Linked DNA regions of Homo sapiens: region 2 is linked to region 1. The links are contacts of gene promoters, found by promoter capture Hi-C in blood cells and fetal thymus (Javierre and others, 2016). All regions are on one chromosome and are shown on one strand. Each heading gives the region's core, a stretch centred on a gene start or on the middle of the fragment in contact. The rest is flanking DNA. Distances are from core to core; before and after follow the strand shown.

The links. The method cuts DNA at HindIII sites, captures the fragments that hold promoters and counts their contacts. A CHiCAGO score of 5 or more calls a contact.
Region 2: a contact is called between a fragment that was not itself captured here and the fragment with the promoter of OR13C5 in region 1, in 1 of 17 cell types (endothelial precursors). The highest score is 5.9, in endothelial precursors.

The regions. Positions count from the first base shown.
Region 1 is chr9:104,596,305-104,601,872 of GRCh38, forward strand. OR13C5 (olfactory receptor family 13 subfamily C member 5) reads right to left here and starts at 3,109. Exons shown (of 1, transcript NM_001004482.1): 1 at 2,153-3,109. The coding sequence starts at 3,109. The coding sequence ends at 2,153. The region is part of intron 3 of LOC107987105 (a long non-coding RNA gene); the gene reads right to left. The HindIII fragment of the contact is 5,863 bases long and covers 32-5,568 here.
Region 2 is chr9:101,627,976-101,633,543 of GRCh38, forward strand. It overlaps GRIN3A (glutamate ionotropic receptor NMDA type subunit 3A), which reads right to left. Exons shown (of 9, transcript NM_133445.3): 4 at 281-426. Among named protein-coding and RNA genes, the nearest start is that of PPP3R2, 36 kb to the left of the region's middle. The HindIII fragment of the contact is 546 bases long and covers 2,824-3,369 here.

The sequences.
Region 1 (5,568 bases), core at 1,859-4,358:
ACTTAAGGTGAAAAAATATACTTGAGGATAAAGCTTTCTTTTTTTTGAGAAGATGAAAAGGTTATCTATACTAATTGAGTCAGTGTTATTAACAATAAGCTGACATCCCTTCTAACTGGATCCAAACATTAAAAACTGAGCATACCTCTTTTTTTAATAAGTATGGATCTATTTATTAAATATTCTGCCAAAATGTAACAGCAGCTAAATACTTTAAAAACTGTATGTTTCTGACCAACATTTTCCATGGGGTCTAGGAAAACTAGACACAAATCTACATGTCTGCAAATTTAAAGAGTATTACAGAGAGTAATGTTCTTTAGACTCATGGAGATTTCAGCATGAAAAAATATTACAGTCATAAAAACAGGGGTACAGTCTGAGAAATGCATAATTGTCAAATCTTATTATGTTGTAAACATCACAGGGTATATTTATGCAAACCTAGATGATATAGCCTATTATACACTGAGGCTACATAGCATAGCCTATTGCTCCTAGGCTACAAAGCTGTACAGCATGCTACTGTACTGAACACTATAGGCAATTGTGTCACAATGGTATTTGTGTATCTAAAATAACAAGAAAAGTCACAGTAAAAATATAAAATTATAATCTCCTGAGACCACCATTATATGTTATCTGTCATTGATCAAAACGTTGTTAAATGGCACATGACTTTAGTTCCTTGTAGCTCTAGTTTACCTTAGATCAGCATTCATTCTGTATGCAGGGCATGGCCTCCAGAATTTCCCCAGAACCTCCAAATTTCCATGACATTGGTCTGAGCAACAAAGTGTCTTCACATAAAGAAGACACTTAATGAACTATATATGGAAACCCTGGAGACTTAATCTTTAGAACTCAAGGTAGTTCATGGCTATGATAACTCAAGATAATATTAAATAATATATTTTCCCCCAGGTTTTCATAGATAACAGAACATCAGTTTCCCCAGGCCAGTGGAGAATGAAAACTATGGCTTTTAATGTTAGTCTTTTCAGAATCATGGCAGACAACACATCCTGACATCTTCAAACTACCCCAGTATTTAGGGACCGAGAATAACATCTCATTTTTAAAGATTTCATTTTACGTAGCTTTTAGTATAATAGAGGCTGTCTGTAAGAGCCTGAAAAGGCTAATTGCAAAAAGTATATCAAGGATGTCTTATAAAGCAATGGCATATACAAATCCATAGAACAAAAAGAAGTATATGTGCAAATGTATAGCTATGAGGCAATTTTAAGAGAACTGTCGAATCCCTAGCAATGATGGGGAATAAGGGATTATTTGAAATTTTCTATTTGTCTATAGATATTATCCCATTACATTTTAATGTTAACAATAAGTTATAGGCCAAGGTGTACAAGCTCAAAATAGACTCATCACTATATACCCCTCATCTCACAAAATACAAGCCAATAAACATAATTTTCTAATAAGAGAGCTAACATGTTCCAGCAAAAAATGTAGAGTTGTTTTGTTTTGAACCCTCATTCTTTTACTTGTTATTTAATGATCACATATCATTTTAGATGAGTTGGTTGCCAATCTCTCCAAAATAAAAAAGACAACCAAAGACGTAAAAGAACTATACACTGAAAACTATAAAACATTGATAAAAAAATTGAAGAAGACATAAGTAAATCGAAAGATATTACATGTTCATGGATTAGAAGAATTAATATTGTGAAATGTCCATATTACCTAAAGCAATCTACAGATTCAATGCAATCTGTATCAAAATTCCAATGTCATTTTTCATAAAAATTGAAACAACAATCCTAAAATTTACATGGAACTAGAAAAGACCCTGCCTGGGCAAAGCAATCTGAAGCAAAAACAAAGCTGAGAGCACCATATGCTGCAGTTTTAAAATATGTTATAAAGTTATTGTAATCAAAAGAGCATGGTACTCAGATAAAAATAGACATATCAACCAATGGAACAGAATAGAAACTTATTTCCAAACACTGAAATTTATTTATTTACTTCTTTTCATTATGTATCGCAATCAGAGAAGTGTATTTTGGAGCTTTAGAACTTCGAGAGATGAATGTGAAACAGCAACGAGAACCTATCTGTTTAACCTTGGTTTCTCTAATTGATTTCCATATTGTGATTATAAAATTACTCTCACCTTTCTCATTTACTTGTTAAAATTTTTTCTTCTCAGTAGGTGTTTTACTGCCTCCTTCACATCCTTGTTTCTAAGACTGTAGATTAAAGGATTCATCATGGGAGTCATCACCCTGTAGAATATGAATATAAGTTTGTCAGTGGCATCCAAGTCATCTGAATTAAGTGTCTCTTGAGACTTGGGCTTCATGTACATGAGGAAGATGGTCCCACAGAATGTTATCACCACAGTCAGACGAGCTGAGCAGGTAGAGGAAGGTTTGCTTCTCCCCTCCGAAGAGCTAATTTTGAAGATGCTCAAAATGATTAACGTGTAAGAGACAATAATTAATAACAAAGGTGTCAATAGGAACAATGTTGTGGTCACAAGCAGGATGAACTCATTGCCTGAGATGTCAGCACAGGCCAGTTTCATGACAGCTAGAATTTCACAGGTGAAATGATTGATGATGTTATTCCTGCAGAAAGGCAATTGTACCACAAACACTGTTTGTACTGCAGAATTGACAGCTCCTATGATCCAGGACCCAGCTGCCATGGGTACATAGGCATCCTTACTCATGATGATGGGATATCTCAGAGGGTTGCAGATAGCCACATAGCGGTCAAAGGCCATCACGCCCAGAAGCACACACTCTGTTGTCCCCATGGCCAAGCTGAGGAACATCTGCACTGCACAGCCAGAAAGGGAAATGGTCTTTCTTTCTGAAAGGAAGCTCACTAGCGTGGAGGGAATAGAGGTGGTGGTGTAGCAGATGTCCAAGAAGGAGAGGTTCCCCAGAAAGAAGTACATAGGGGTGTGAAGGTGAGGGTCCAAGATGCTGATTAAAATGAGAGTACCATTCCCCAGAAGGATGACCACATACATTATGAAGATGAGCACAAAAAAGAGTAACTCAAGTCTTGGGTGACCAGAAAGTCCCTTCAGAAAAAATTCCACCAGAATGGTGTGGTTTTCCCATTCCATTTTACTCCCTCTTTAGCTTGTAAGACAGAGCATGTTAAGACAAATATTTATCTTACTCTGATTACTTTCAAGCATGTGTCAATGAATATGTGCCATAATTCCCAAGGAAAAAGAAAAATAAAATGGGAAAAGACCAAAGAAAGAAGAGAGAGCATAAAGAAAAGTCTACAGAAAAGAGGGAATTATGAATGGAGAGAGGGAAGGGAATGAATGAATGAATGAATGAATGGAGAGAAGGAAGGAAAGATAAAAGTAACATGTTTCATGCTACAGCCACTTAATTCATTTAATATCATCACAGTTCTAGGAAAGGGGTATTAGTATCCATATTTTACAGATGAATAAATCAAAGCGGATATGTTAAGTAAACTTGACCAAAGGTACATACTATATAGCAGAGCTAAGATTCAAACCGAAATATTCCTGTTGAAGTCTGAACTTTTTGTCATATTTGTCATCACATAGTAAACTGAAGGTTATAATAGAAATGAGCATTGTATTATGTAAAACTGAACACTAAACTATTTTATTGGCTATAAATCACCACACAATAGATCAATGCTCTTGTCACTCCTTGAAATTATACTATGTTACGTATATTGTCTGTCTTTCCCAGTAGAATGTAAACTTCATAAGGGCAGGTACTTATTCTTGCTTATTTCCACAGCCCCTGTAGCTAGAATAGAACAGACACCGAGGTAAATGTTCAAAAACATTTGTTGGATGCACAGACAAAATCAAAGGCAAAACAATTGCTATATTTCTTACTCTGCGCCAACCCTCTATTATTTGTTTTCTCTGTGCATTACATAATGGAGTCTGAAAAGCAAGCCTATGAGGTAATACTGTTACTCTTAGTATCACCAAGCCTATTGTGTAGAGGGGAAAATAAGGCACAGAAAAGTTAAGTAATTTGCTTAAGGTCAATTTCATAAAGACAGATAAATGAAAGAGCAAGGACTTAAACCCAAGCAGTATGGCTTCAGAATTCGAGCTCTTAATACTCAAAACTTAATACTCAGTACTTAATAACTTAATGCTTAAAGAGAATTTGCAAAGAGAATTTGGCTCATGGGCTAGAATATCTTGCAATCTCACTAACAGTATTAATATTTCAAAAGAAATATCAGATAAAAATGTGATTGGTCAGTAAGGGGATTTCAATATGGTAATTTGATAGCAGTTGATTTTGATGCTTCATATTTTGCTAGAAAAGTACTCATTTCTATAACAAATGTTTTGTCACAGAGTTGCATTTGATCATTATAATTCTTGTGTCCTCCCTTACATGAAAATTTCTCATTTTCATTATGATGCCTCTTTGACTTTTTTTTTCCTTTATTCAACTCACAAGGGGTTTTCCTATATTCCAGGTCTTTAAAAAAAAAAAACAGCTTTAGGATAGATTTATTCTCTTGACTTTTTGCGTTTCATTAAGTTTCTATCTTCATAAATTTCTTGTTTATTCGGATCTATTTTTCTAATTTTCTGATTTCTAATTTCTATTTTCCAAATCTATTTTTCTAATTTCTTGAAATAAGAAGACAAATTCTTATTTCCTCCTTCTTACTCGTCTATTTCTTGCTCTAATGAAGGCACTTAGAGCACTTTTTGTTTTATTATAGACTTTGTATTTTATGGGAATTTTTTTACTGGTTTCTAGATAATTTTTTTGTTTGTAAAGTTCCTCTGAAATCCAAGCATCTTTCTTCATTATTTAGTGACTGAGCATTTTCATTCTATTTTTACTATTTATTTCCTATTTTATTTTATGTATTTATTTATTTATTTATTTATTTATTTATTTATTTATTTTTCTGAGACGGAGTCTCCCTCTGTCATTCAGGCTGGAGTGTAGTGGTGCGATCTCAGCTCACTACAGCCTCCACCTCCCAGATTCAAGTGATTCTCCTGTCTCAGCCTTCTGAGTAGCTGGGACTACAGGCATGTGCCACCACGCCTGGCTAATTTTTGTGTTTTTGGTAGAGACAGGGTTTCACCATGTTGGCCAGGCTGGTCTTGAACACCTGACCTCAAGTGATCTGCCCACCTCAGCCTCCCAAAGTGCTGGGGTTACAGGCATGAGCCACCGTGCCCGGCCCCATTTTATTTTAATATGAAAACATGACCTATAATTCTCTAGTTTGCACATTTCGTTGTATTTGACTATTTTACAATAAGCACATATTTCCTTTGGAATTTTAGATATATAAATAAATTAAAGGTATTTGTCATCCAAAAACAGCATAAAAAATTTCATAATTTCAAAGATAAAATTTTACTTACACACCATAAATTAGGAGCCCCTGTTTTTGTAAAGTGAGTGTTATCTTTACTAAAAAAAAAAAAATCTATTTTTTATAGTCTTTTCTGGAAGATTAGAGCTAATATCAAATTCCTCCCCTTCTCATATCTCAATTAATGTCAGGTATTCCCCTAATTTAAGATTTAATTCCTAT
Region 2 (5,568 bases), core at 1,847-4,346, 3.0 Mb before region 1:
TTACTTCCTCCACCATCTGCTATGCTAATGGCCCCACTGACTCTTTGAACAAAGCTACTACCAACTTGAGACTATGCAGGTCACAAGTAATCTAGGTCACATAATTAAATACACACTATTTCACACCATCTCCTGGGATCTCACACAGTGTAAAGTATTACTTAACACAACGTGGGTATATTCATCTGTCATTTTCAGAAACTAACATATACTGCGTCAGTAGCTAAATTACTTCTCTTCAGTGAGAATTTTTCTTTGGATCCAAGAGGTTGACACTCACTTCAGATACTCCACTCCATCAGGGGTGGCTGGAACATTGTACCTTCTCATATATTCATGCATCTCTGGGAAACTTTGTCTCACATAATCTTCAGCACTGCTTTCTCGGACAGTTCCAAAGCGGAATCCTTGGGAAGGATGATGTAACTATGAGGGAGAAAAAGAAATGGCTTAAATAAAAATTATTCTTAGAAGTGTTTTTTAACATTTTTTTCATAATTCTTTGAAACTTAATAATAATTCGGAACTTTTCTAACCCCCACAGGCAGAAACATGTACATAGAAATGTGCAGACATGGCTACATGCTTTTTACATCAGAAATTGCTCTATCTTTAGAAGCAAACAGATGGAAACGACAAACAAAAAATACAAAACAATTTTTTTTGCTTTATATTGGAACCTATTAGAATTCTTTAGAAGCCATGCAAATTGGCATGTAGAATTAGTCTCATTATTGTAAACTGCATATCAGACAAAGTGTACATTCATAATAAAGATTATGATACTCCTTGGTTAGAATAACATAAAGGCCAAGTTAAAACCTTACATCCTGAGATTACAATAAACCTGCGCTAATGCTGTGACTACATCACTTTTGTGTTTAGCCACCTTTAGGCTATATTACATTTTGTTTATTGAATTTATTTTTAGTGTTTTCATAAAATGTTCTCATCTAGGAGGGAGATAATACAGAGTATTTTTTTTAATAATTAGGTTTTTAAGTTGTTTACCCTAAAAATGATTAAGAACTCACTGAATATGGTGACAAATAACATATATTTGAAGATGAATTAGTTTTGACACACAGTAAAGGTGTAACAATAAGGTAATAGTTAAATAAATTATATGGTATATTCTTATAGAGTGTAATGCAACATATAAATCATGTTTGTAAAGTATGTTTCATAAAACAAGGCAAATGCTCATATGGCAAGTGGAAAAAAGCTTTCATATGGTATGATCAAAACAAAACATGTATACATTTATTTAAATGCCATGATTTCCCATATATATTATACACACACACACATACGCACATGCACACACACCTTGGAAGAAAACACATTGGTGTTGAATTTACAGATGTATTTTTTATTTACAGATTATCTGCAGAAACACTTACCATGTTTACAAGTATAAAAAATATTTTAAAATCAGCAAAATCGTTCATTTATTCAACACTTATTGAAGGCCTACTCTGTAGAGTTCTCAAAGTTACTAGGGTGACAAAGATAAATACCTGCAACCACTGCCATATAGGAACTCTTAAAACCTGTTGTTCATTGTATTTCTTTGGTATTCCACTGTTAAGTAAGTAATATAGCTTGCTCTAAGTTTAATGTAATTGTTCCATGCACTGAACAAATTCTAATGTTTTATGCCAGCATAACCTTAATGCCACATCAACAATAATAACAATACTTAACATTTATTAAACACTTATTATGCGCCAAACAAGATACTTAGAGCTTTACATACATTATCGTGCTGAATCCTCATAATAGCTTCGTGAAGAGGGCACTGTTGTTACTTCCTCTTAGGGATGAGTAAACTGAAGCTCAGAGAAGTGAAGTAATGGGCATAAGGTCATGCAGTTGTAAGTAGCAGGGACTGGCTCAGAACCCATGTCTATCTTATTTCAAAGCATGTGCTATTATCTACTACATCATCTTGCATTCTAGCTCATGACAACAACTGAAGCGATGATGTTTATTAGGAGGAACTCACCAGGCTTTTAAAAATATTATCCTTATGCCTTGAACCCCCGGGGCTGTTCTCATAGTAGCAAATTGCAGTCGTATGGCTTGCGCAAGGCACATTTATCAGCATTGTCTGTCCAACATCTATTAATTTTTCAAGACCTAGGTCAAATTTTTCTATGTAAAGTCTTTTGTCTTGTGTAGCTTCACCCTCCTACCCAGAACAACAACAATGAAAAAACTACTTATTTATCTGTGCTGATATAGTATCTTGTACATATAAAATATGTAGGCAAAGACCTAGGTGAAAATTTTCTATGTGAAGCCTTTGGTCTTGTCTAGCTTCACCCTCCTACCCAAAACAACAACAATAGAGAAACATAACTACTTATTTATCTGTGCTGATATAGTAGCTTGTACATATAAAATATGTAGGCAAATATTTATTTAAGTAATCTTTGACCTTTCCGTGCATTATCTCCTTTGATCCTACCAAGAAATGTGAGGTAGATATGTCTATCATCTTTTTACATAAAGAAACTGAAGATTAGAAAGTGTGTCATTTGTCCAAGGTCACAGAGCTAGTAATTGTACCTGGGATTGGAATTCAGCCTGATCAAAGACATTCAGCTTTTGACAACTGTGTAACATTGCTTCTGATACTATATCATACTGACTCCCTCTGTCTGGATTTGCTACTTGTATGCCAGACGGTAAGCTAAGGGCTTTTAAAATTTTCACAATAATCTTACAAGATAGATGTTATTTTCTTATTTTGCAGATTAAAACACTGAGGCTTGGATAGTTAAAGTAACACCAACTTCTCACAACTAGGAATTAACAAGCTTCAGCCCATCCTATTTTCTGTAACTTGCAGACCAACTTTCATTTGTTTGTGTAATACAGTTACCTATCACGACCTTTGGCACCTTGCAGGTAGTCTATATCTGTTTGTCAAGTTAATTCATTTTATCTAGTCTATTTTTCTATCCTGCTTTATCCATTTAACTTATATGCATTCTTCTGCTCTCAGTTCAGTAATTACTTCCCTAACTTATTGTGTAGGCCAGATTCTTTTTTCGTAAGCCCTTACAGTACATATACCTATCTTTTGTAGAATCTATCACAGTTGCAGTTTTAAATTTAATTATGTAATCATGTGATTAGCGTCTAGACTCTCAGTTTCTTCACTAACTGGAAGCTCCATGTAAACAAGAATAATGTTAATTTTAATTTATCCTTGTATTTCTAATGCCTTTCATTTTGTAGTTGCTCAAGAAAATACTTGATGAGTAATTAATTGATAACTGTTCTTTGAACTTAGAGGAAGGTGACAGCTTTGTCATCTCACTTAGCACAAACTAAGCTAACAGTATAGCTTACAACTCAAGCTTTCTAAACAAACCCTCTCTTTAAGGTAAAAGGGCTGTAGAATCATTAATTAAAATACCTTTCTCTCATATAGAAACAGAATTCCTTCCAGAAATACATTCTTTACATTATGTTGTGATAATACTTTTATGGTCTATGACCAGGATTTTTAGGGAAATCCTGCTTTTCTGGGTCTCATTTTCTTTTCTGAATGCACCAGCACATCGTTCCTTTCCAAAGCATGGAAGGAATCAGGGAACCAGCAGACCCAGGCTCAGAATTCTGCTGGAGGACTGTCTCTTTGTGTTTTTCCTTTGCATGACTTTCTGTTGTATTTGCTCATCAGCTCCCATATCTGTCTTATTGGCTCTGTGAAGGCAAAGGTTCTGAGGTTCTGAGAATTGAAAGTTCCTTCAAGGATTAGCAAATAAGCAGACTCCAGGAGAGAAAGCATCTTATTAGCCTGACAGGGACCTCACTCTAACATGGAGATGTTTTGCAAACACTGCCACTGCTCTTATTTGAGTCACCATCATTTCTGTCATCCACATATTCCCTTTCTTCCTTTCTGATCCACTCAGAGAAATTTTAGAATTCAGATCTGATCATGTCCCTCACTTGCTTAATGCCCATCAATGGCTCCCCCATGGCCCTTGGGATGAAGTCCAAACTCCTCACATGGCCTCTAAGGTTCAGCATGTTTGGCTCCTGCCTTCCTTTTCCTAGCCTTGTCGTCCTGCTCTCCCCCTGGCCTTCCAAGCTTTGGCCAGTTCTCTCATTTCCAAAACAAACATTTTGCTTGGTCAGAGCTCTTGCATATAGTCTTCAGTCGGCCTGGGACACTTTTTCCTCATCCCTACTTCTTTGTCTAGCTAACTCTTAAATGTCACTTCCTGAGGAAAACCTTCACTGACCCCTAGACCTGTAACACCCTCCCATTATACCTACAGTTTCACATAGCACTGACAACACTTGGGATTATTTTTATAATTTGCCTTCCCTGCTAGATTGTAAGTTTCCATGAGGATGGTGCCCATAGTGATCTCATTCATGTGGTTGTAAGTCTTCAACAAATGTTAGCTGCTATTATTATTATCATTGTTATGCAACAAGCACAGGGCTTAGCACATAGTATATGCTTGATAAATAATGACATAATAAATGAATTGTCATCATTATTAAGAGAATGAATGAAATTCTCTTAGGTTAGATACATTAAAAATTTGGTGGTTTTTATCACACCTCCTGCTGTCTTTTTTCTCCTTAAAACTAATTTTTTCCTTTGTTACTTTAATTCATTCAAAATGATATATTCTTCTTTCTTTCTCTGTGTGAGATTATATTGAAAAATAACCATGGGCTACTCAGCAGTCACAGAATAATAGAATCAGAAAAGGGATCTAAGAAGCTATTGATGCAACCCAGTGGGCCAGGATGGTCTACCCTGTGTGTAATTCAGACAGCCAGGGATGTCAGAAAGCCTGCATCAAGGAAAAAGGATAAAAGTGTACAAACAGCTTAAGCATTTGAGCTGCATTACAACCATCACCAAGAAGTCCCAGTGAGAGAAGCATTTCTTTAAAGTTTCAGCTAAATACCTCACCAGCTCTTCCGATTCTGTTTATATTTGCATCAACCTTTTTAGGCCTTGGGGAAATATCTAAGGTTAAACTGTCTATTTGTATGTGAATTGTTCAGTATTAATGGAATACTGACCTCTACACAGAGTACCTACATGGAGAATAATCAGACATTCCCGAGAAAGCAGAGAAATGGCTCAAAACAAAATGAGGCGAACTCGGGAAATAATCAAGTTGCTATATCCAAGGTAGATGTAATGTTGCAGATTAAAAAATAATCCCAGTGCTGAGTATACTCATTTAAGGTCTTCATCTGTACCCATCTGAGATTAGTACTTAATTCATCAGTGAAATGTAGTCACTGGACCTGGTATTATGTTCTTTGGAGTTGGGTGGAAAGGGCTATTCCTAACTTGCCTAGTGGAATAGGATATAGTATGTATTGAATTCCCAGCTCCCTTCTACTGCATTACTTTATCCACTTATAACCTGTGGATGCTATAGTATCAAGTGGTCTCAGGGATGGAAGGGGCTTTGCAAGTCTAATCATCCACTAATGTCTGAGTCATCAGTGGACGATTAGCAGGGGTCCCAAACCCCTGGGCCATGGACAGGTAATGGTCCGTGGTCTGGTGGA